Linked DNA regions of Homo sapiens: region 1 is linked to region 2. Evidence: promoter capture Hi-C in 16 types of primary human blood cells and fetal thymus (Javierre and others, 2016). All regions are on one chromosome and are shown on one strand. Each heading gives the region's core, a stretch centred on a gene start or on the middle of the fragment in contact. The rest is flanking DNA. Distances are from core to core; before and after follow the strand shown.

Evidence for each region. The method cuts DNA at HindIII sites, captures the fragments that hold promoters and counts their contacts. A CHiCAGO score of 5 or more calls a contact.
Region 1: a contact is called between the fragment with the promoter of FLJ13224 here and the fragment with the promoter of FAR2 in region 2, in 1 of 17 cell types (M0 macrophages). The highest score is 7.0, in M0 macrophages.

What each region holds. Positions count from the first base shown.
Region 1 is chr12:31,322,654-31,325,632 of GRCh38, forward strand. It overlaps FLJ13224 (a long non-coding RNA gene), which reads left to right and starts at 1,663. Exons shown (of 1, transcript NR_026806.1): 1 at 1,663-2,979. All of the region lies in intron 1 of SINHCAF (SIN3-HDAC complex associated factor), which reads right to left. RefSeq lists an enhancer at 2,586-2,979. The HindIII fragment of the contact is 3,270 bases long and covers 781-2,979 here.
Region 2 is chr12:29,147,800-29,150,567 of GRCh38, forward strand. It overlaps FAR2 (fatty acyl-CoA reductase 2), which reads left to right and starts at 1,479. Exons shown (of 12, transcript NM_001271783.2): 1 at 1,479-1,608. RefSeq lists silencers at 1,327-1,386, 1,697-1,846. The HindIII fragment of the contact is 9,301 bases long and covers 1-2,768 here.

The DNA.
Region 1 (2,979 bases), core at 413-2,912, 2.2 Mb after region 2:
AAAATAGGTTTATTAATAACAAAATAATGAAAAAAAATGGATTTCAACTAGTATCGATTTTTAGGTGTGTGGGGGCAGGGGCATTCAAGGGTATTATTTCCTAGTAATGATCACTTAGATTCTAGGCCTTACACATGATTCAAATGCAGGAGAAATCAGGAAAGAAGCAACAGATATGGTGGTGGGTATCGGATGTCTAGACTACAGGCAAACCCCAAATACCAAAGAAGCATCCATGTGTCAAACCAGCATAATTTTTGAGCTATGCCTGGGGCCACATACAAAAAAAGAAAAGGTTAGCTTGAAAAGAAAAATCTAGGAGAGGTAACCAGAAGGTCAACCACAGTTCACGGGATCTGGGAAGAAGCTAGCCGTTACCCTGTGTCATCTTCCTGAGCAGCTTCCTCCCCAGCCAGCTCCCCAGCCTCCTTACAATGTTTCCAAAAGGCCCAACTCCCTAAACATTTGCTTCTTCAAGGTCATCCTAAGGCACTGAATAACCACCAAACACTGAGTCACGCATACCTTTCGCCTAAAAAAGATCCCCCTTCCCAAAATCATTATATAAATACTTTAAATGCCATGAGGGTTTTCTCCGAAACTCCACCAGAAACAAACTCCCAGACTTTTAGATTGGGCAACTAAATGTGTTCAATTTTGCGACATAAAATTTTAAAAGGCTTTTCAAGTCTGGCAAATTCCAGTTCAAAAACAGGTGCTTTCAGCGTACTCTGAATAACAAGGTCAAATTCATTTTTAAATTATTAAAAGAAAAAGAAAAGCTTTTCTTAACCCTCCTTAGGACAACTTAAGAAGGGGGAGAAAGAATTGCTGGGGTAAAACTGTCTCGGATAGGGTCCCTGTTTAACTCAAGAGTAAATCCTAATCTTCCGAGTGCCTGAAGTAATGGAAGGTTACAGGAAGAAAATAAAAACAAAGAAACTGACTAGGGTCATAGTTACCAGAACAAACTGCACCGCCCTACCACCTCAAGAAACCAACTCCCCCTACACCAAAACAAACCTTGCCCTTCCCCGCTCCCCCCACCCCCTAGAAACACACAAAGAAACTGGCCGCACGCACAATTCGCCCACAGTCCTCACTTCCCTTAGTAGGGCAACAGGGAGCCCCGGAACTTCCCCACGGTGGTTTATCGGGCGTCGTCGGGGCTGGGTCCCCTGGACTTGCGGGCCACAGCTCGGCTGGGGAGGAGGTGCTCGCCGCCCTCACCCGTTTCTCTGAAAGCAGTAAAATGCCTCCCCGCTCCTCCCAGGGCCCTCGGGTCCCCACCTTCCGTAAATCGTGCTTCCCCCTCGGGCACTCCGGTGACTGCCGAGAGAGACGCCGAGCCAGCAAGTAAGAATGCTCCCTGGTGGATTTGTTGGTAAATAAGACATCTCGCGTCGGGAGGAAAGTTCCTGCGGGGGCCGCTCGCCGGGGCGAGGGCGAGGGCAGCGGGAGGTGAACCGCGTCGCTCGCCGCCACCTCCCTCACCTGCGCCGGAACAACGGGCCCCGCGCCAGCCCGGCCCGGCGCCTCCCGCAGGCCGCGCCTCCCGCACGCCGCGCTGCCGGGGCTTGTTCCTCCTCATGGCTTTGCCCTGACGTAATTCAAACATGGCAACAGTTCGACTTCAAAGGCGAACCCACAGACCTCCCAGACACAGGCTCCCGGGCCACGAGAAACCGGCCGAGCAGTCCGGGCCAAGCTCCCCGGAACCCTCGGCCGTCGCAACCCCCGACGCCAGGGCTGAAGCGCCGGGCACTGCCGCCTCCCTCGGTCGCCCGCCCGCACGCCCGGAGCGGGGAAGCACGCCGCCTCCCTACGCACCAGCATGGCACCTCGCACAAGTAGCGCCGCCAAAGTTTCCCCACGAGGGGGCTGAGGGACAAAAGCCCCTCCCGAAACTCGCCCGAACTTCGAGGGCCTCCGACCTGCACGGCCCTACGCCCAGGCGGCGGCCCCGAGCGCCGGGGGCCCGCACGGGCACATGCAGCCCTTTGTTTTCTGTCCAGCCGGGCGCTGCCTACGTGCAGCATCAGGGATGTCGGAGCGTTTCGCAGGGGCCGGACACTGGACGATCACCCTGGGTAGGGGTCCGGACCCCGCGCCCCGAAGAGTCCGGAGCCTGGCCCCCCGACCCTCCCCTCGGGAGCAGGCCCATTTAATCAAAGTTTTGCAGTGTCCTTGATGAGAAACGCCCGGAGTATCCGCCCCGCACGGGCGGAGAGTTGGCGACTTTCACTCTGCTTTTTAAACTGGCAAGACGCCATCATCAGCAAACCACATTGTCCTGCCGGCCGGACCTGCCCGACGGCGGCCGCATCCCACGGCTCACGCGGGGCTGGACATTCGGACAAGGACCAGGGTCGCAGCCCGAAGCACGTGGTCTGTCACGTAGAGCACAAAAAGCAGTGCCCTGCGGAGTTCACTGACTCCCGCGGCGTACACAACGCCGCCGCCTCCATCTCCAGCCAAGTTGGCTTCCCTGGCCATCTTACAGCGCGGACGGCCGCCCATAAACGGGAAGCCCTCGCGGTGTCGCCCACACCTACGCTACAGGTGAACGCACCGGGAGCAAAACTTCGGGCTCCGAAAGCACCCCGGACACCAGAGGCTCTTGGGCGCGGTCCGAAGAGGGCAGGCGAGTGGAAGACGGGCTGTTTTTAAGCGACCGCGTGTTGCTCTCATTGTCGCATCCGCATCCCTCCGGAGTTGAGCAAACAACGCCACGCCGCGTGCGCTCCGGCAGAGCCCAGCACTGACCCCCAAAGGCCGATTTAAAGACCCTCGGCCGCCAGCTCGGAAGCGGATGGCAACTTAGTTTCCGAGCGAATGGCGTTTATTGTCCACCCTAGTCCGAGGGCTGCAGTCAACTAAACCACGAGGTTTCACAACGGCGCCCGACCCTGCCCGCGCCTCGCGCCCACGCGGACGCACCGACCCCGGCCGCTGCGCGGTGGCCAACGAGTCGCTTTC
Region 2 (2,768 bases), core at 229-2,728:
CATTTGAAGTGCTGTCACACACATTTTGAAGATACATTCAAATTTATTCTTGAGGAGGGGAGGGGTAACGAAAAATACTATAAATTTGGTTGTAACTTTTTTTCTGTCTCTTGCATTCAGGCGGTCACCAGAGGAAATTAGTCAGTGCCTTTAGGCTACACTTAGCTTAACACATTTCATTAAAGAGCCCAGTAGTAGAGAATTCAAGATGGGTGTTATTATTTTAATTTCATGAAATCACTCCTTAATTCTAACTTTCAAAAGTCAAATTTTATTTCTTTAATTGCATGTGGATTGTTATAATGAGGAGAATCAGAACAGCTTATAGGACAATATTTCTTTTCTATTTTTCTTAACACACCATATTTATTTGGAAATTTACCTCCTACATTGTCCAGGGAATTAGGATGGGCGTTGGCCGTTTTTCAGCACTTCCTGGTTGAGGCCAAGGGCTCCACTCACGTGCCTGTCCATCCCTCTACAAGGCTTCCCTGGCAGCTTGTTTTTCCGTTTAAAATTTAACAATGACCAAATCCCAAAAAAGCTACCAGGCTAAGAAATGAAACATCTTTTTTTCTTTTAAGTCCGGAGAAGTGCTGCTGAGCACAGCTGGCTCACTGCTGTTTCTGCGGCCCCCATCTCTGATCCTTTCTAGTCTCCTACCCACCCCCACCCCACCATAGGCAGGCAGAGCCGGATTTCTGCCCTTCAAACCCCGAGTGTGAGGAAGCCTCACCTGAAGTCCTCGCATCACCCTCCACCCTCACGCCCTTGGGTTTTAAAAAGCCACTGCGTTCGTGGGTCACTGCAGGGCGCCTCCGCAATGTCTTTAGCAGATACAAGAGCATCCCTCCCACGGGATGTGCAGTGTAGTCAAGCTGAGTAAACTGGGATTTTTGGCTGCCTTTTCTGCTAGGGTGGGTGGGGAAAGGTATGTCCCCCAAGCGTTCAGTTCAGACTAGAACCTTTGAATCTCTCTCCTGTCTCGGTCTCTCCCTCCACCCCCCTACCCCGCCACCTTTCACGGTGTGGGAGTTCTCCTTTCCCACACCAGAGAGGGGCGCCTTTCTAGCTTCCTTGTCCCCTCGCCCACTGATTAAAAAATGGAGAAAAAAACCAACCCCAAAACCCAAAACAAAACAAAACAAAAGCCCCAAACAAACAAACAAACCAAACCCACCGAAACCAAAACCAACTCCCCTCCCCCAAACCACACAAATGCGGGAGTCATAGCCAGTGGATCCGCTGGTGCTGAACGAATGGAAGCGCGGGGCGGGCCTGCGCGCGCGGCCGCCCTGCCCACGATGCTGTCGCCCCCGCGACCTGTAGGGCCTTCGCTGGCCCCTCACCCTCCTCCCGCCCCGGGCTGAGGCTGCCGCCGGTTTCGCGCCCAGTGCCGAGGCAGCGGCGGAGCCGGGGAAGGTCGGAGGGAGGGTGGTTTCCTCCCGCCCCACACCCAGTCTCCGAGCCGGATATATAGAGTGTCACGTTTGGGAGCCGAAAGACTGGAGCCGTTTCCTTGTGGCTGGAGCGCTTCCCGTAGCCTCGGGGAAGGAGCAGGATTTAGAGGACCACTAGTTGGACCCCATCCTCGTGCTGGAGGAACAGGTATTCCAGGGTCCCCAGCCCTGGCGCTCGCAGAGCCCACGCGCTCCAAAAGCAGAGACCGGACTGGGGGTGGCCCAGGAGGGAGGGCTCGGCTGGGTTCGCAGGGCGGGGCGGTTCCCGGCGGGACCTCGAGGAGGGTGGGTGTGAGGCCGGGTGGGAGGAGAGAAGCATTTGCGGAGGCTCTGCCCCCTGAAGCTGCCCCCGGCTGCACCCCAATCGTCACCGGCCGTTTACGCGCGGTTGGCGTCGGCGGAGCCCGCCAAGGTGGGGCGCGCGGGGGTTGCAAAGGGCAGAAAGCCGGGAAGGACCCAGCAAGGTTAATGTGGGGGGCCGCGCCTTGGGGACTGGGGACCCGGGAAGAGAGGCGCGGGGCCGAGTCCCACCCAGGCCTCCTGGGCCCTTGGGGCTATTCCTGGAGAGAGCGCGAAAATGCCGGGGCCACGTGTGAAACGGCAGCGGTCCTAGGTCCCCTCCCGGTGCCTGGGACCGCCAGGGCGCCCAGTCCTGGTCCCCGGAGCAGGTCCTCGCCAGCCCCCAGCCCCACCCCAGGCTGCGCACGTCCCTACCCTCCCACCTGGGCCTCGCCGGGGTCGTGGCTGACGCGCGCTGGGGCGACTGGTGAGGCCAGGGCGGGCTTTGCCCCTGTAGGAAGTTTTAGACATCTTCCTGCGGCCTGGGCATCCTGGGGGTGTGCAGGGGAGCAGGTGCCAGCAGACTCCCAACTGGAGTAGATGGCTTGCAGGAAGGCTGCTCAACACTCCTAGCAAGTAGAATTACCCGCGGGGCAGTCTCAGTCTATTAAAACAATTCATGCCCAATCGTATCCTACAAACCAGAGGAAGGCGTCTCACCTGCCAGCGGTGGCACCATTTCTTCCACGGTTGAGTTATGTGGTGTGAGCAACCAAGGTTATCGCTGGATCTGCAAGAGTTTGGCCACTCGTTGAATCACGTAAAGTGCCCCCATTATGTGATGAGCAAGGACAGAGTAGGGTCAGAAAAGTGACCAGGGAATTCAGGTAGATCGTGCTTTTCTGTTTGCTAGGTTGAGAGAAATTTGACACTGGGCAAATGGAAATTTGAGAATTACCCCGTGGTTTCAATTACCCATCTCTGTATATTCCCATTTATAAGAGCTGGAGATTTGACTGACAGGTGTAG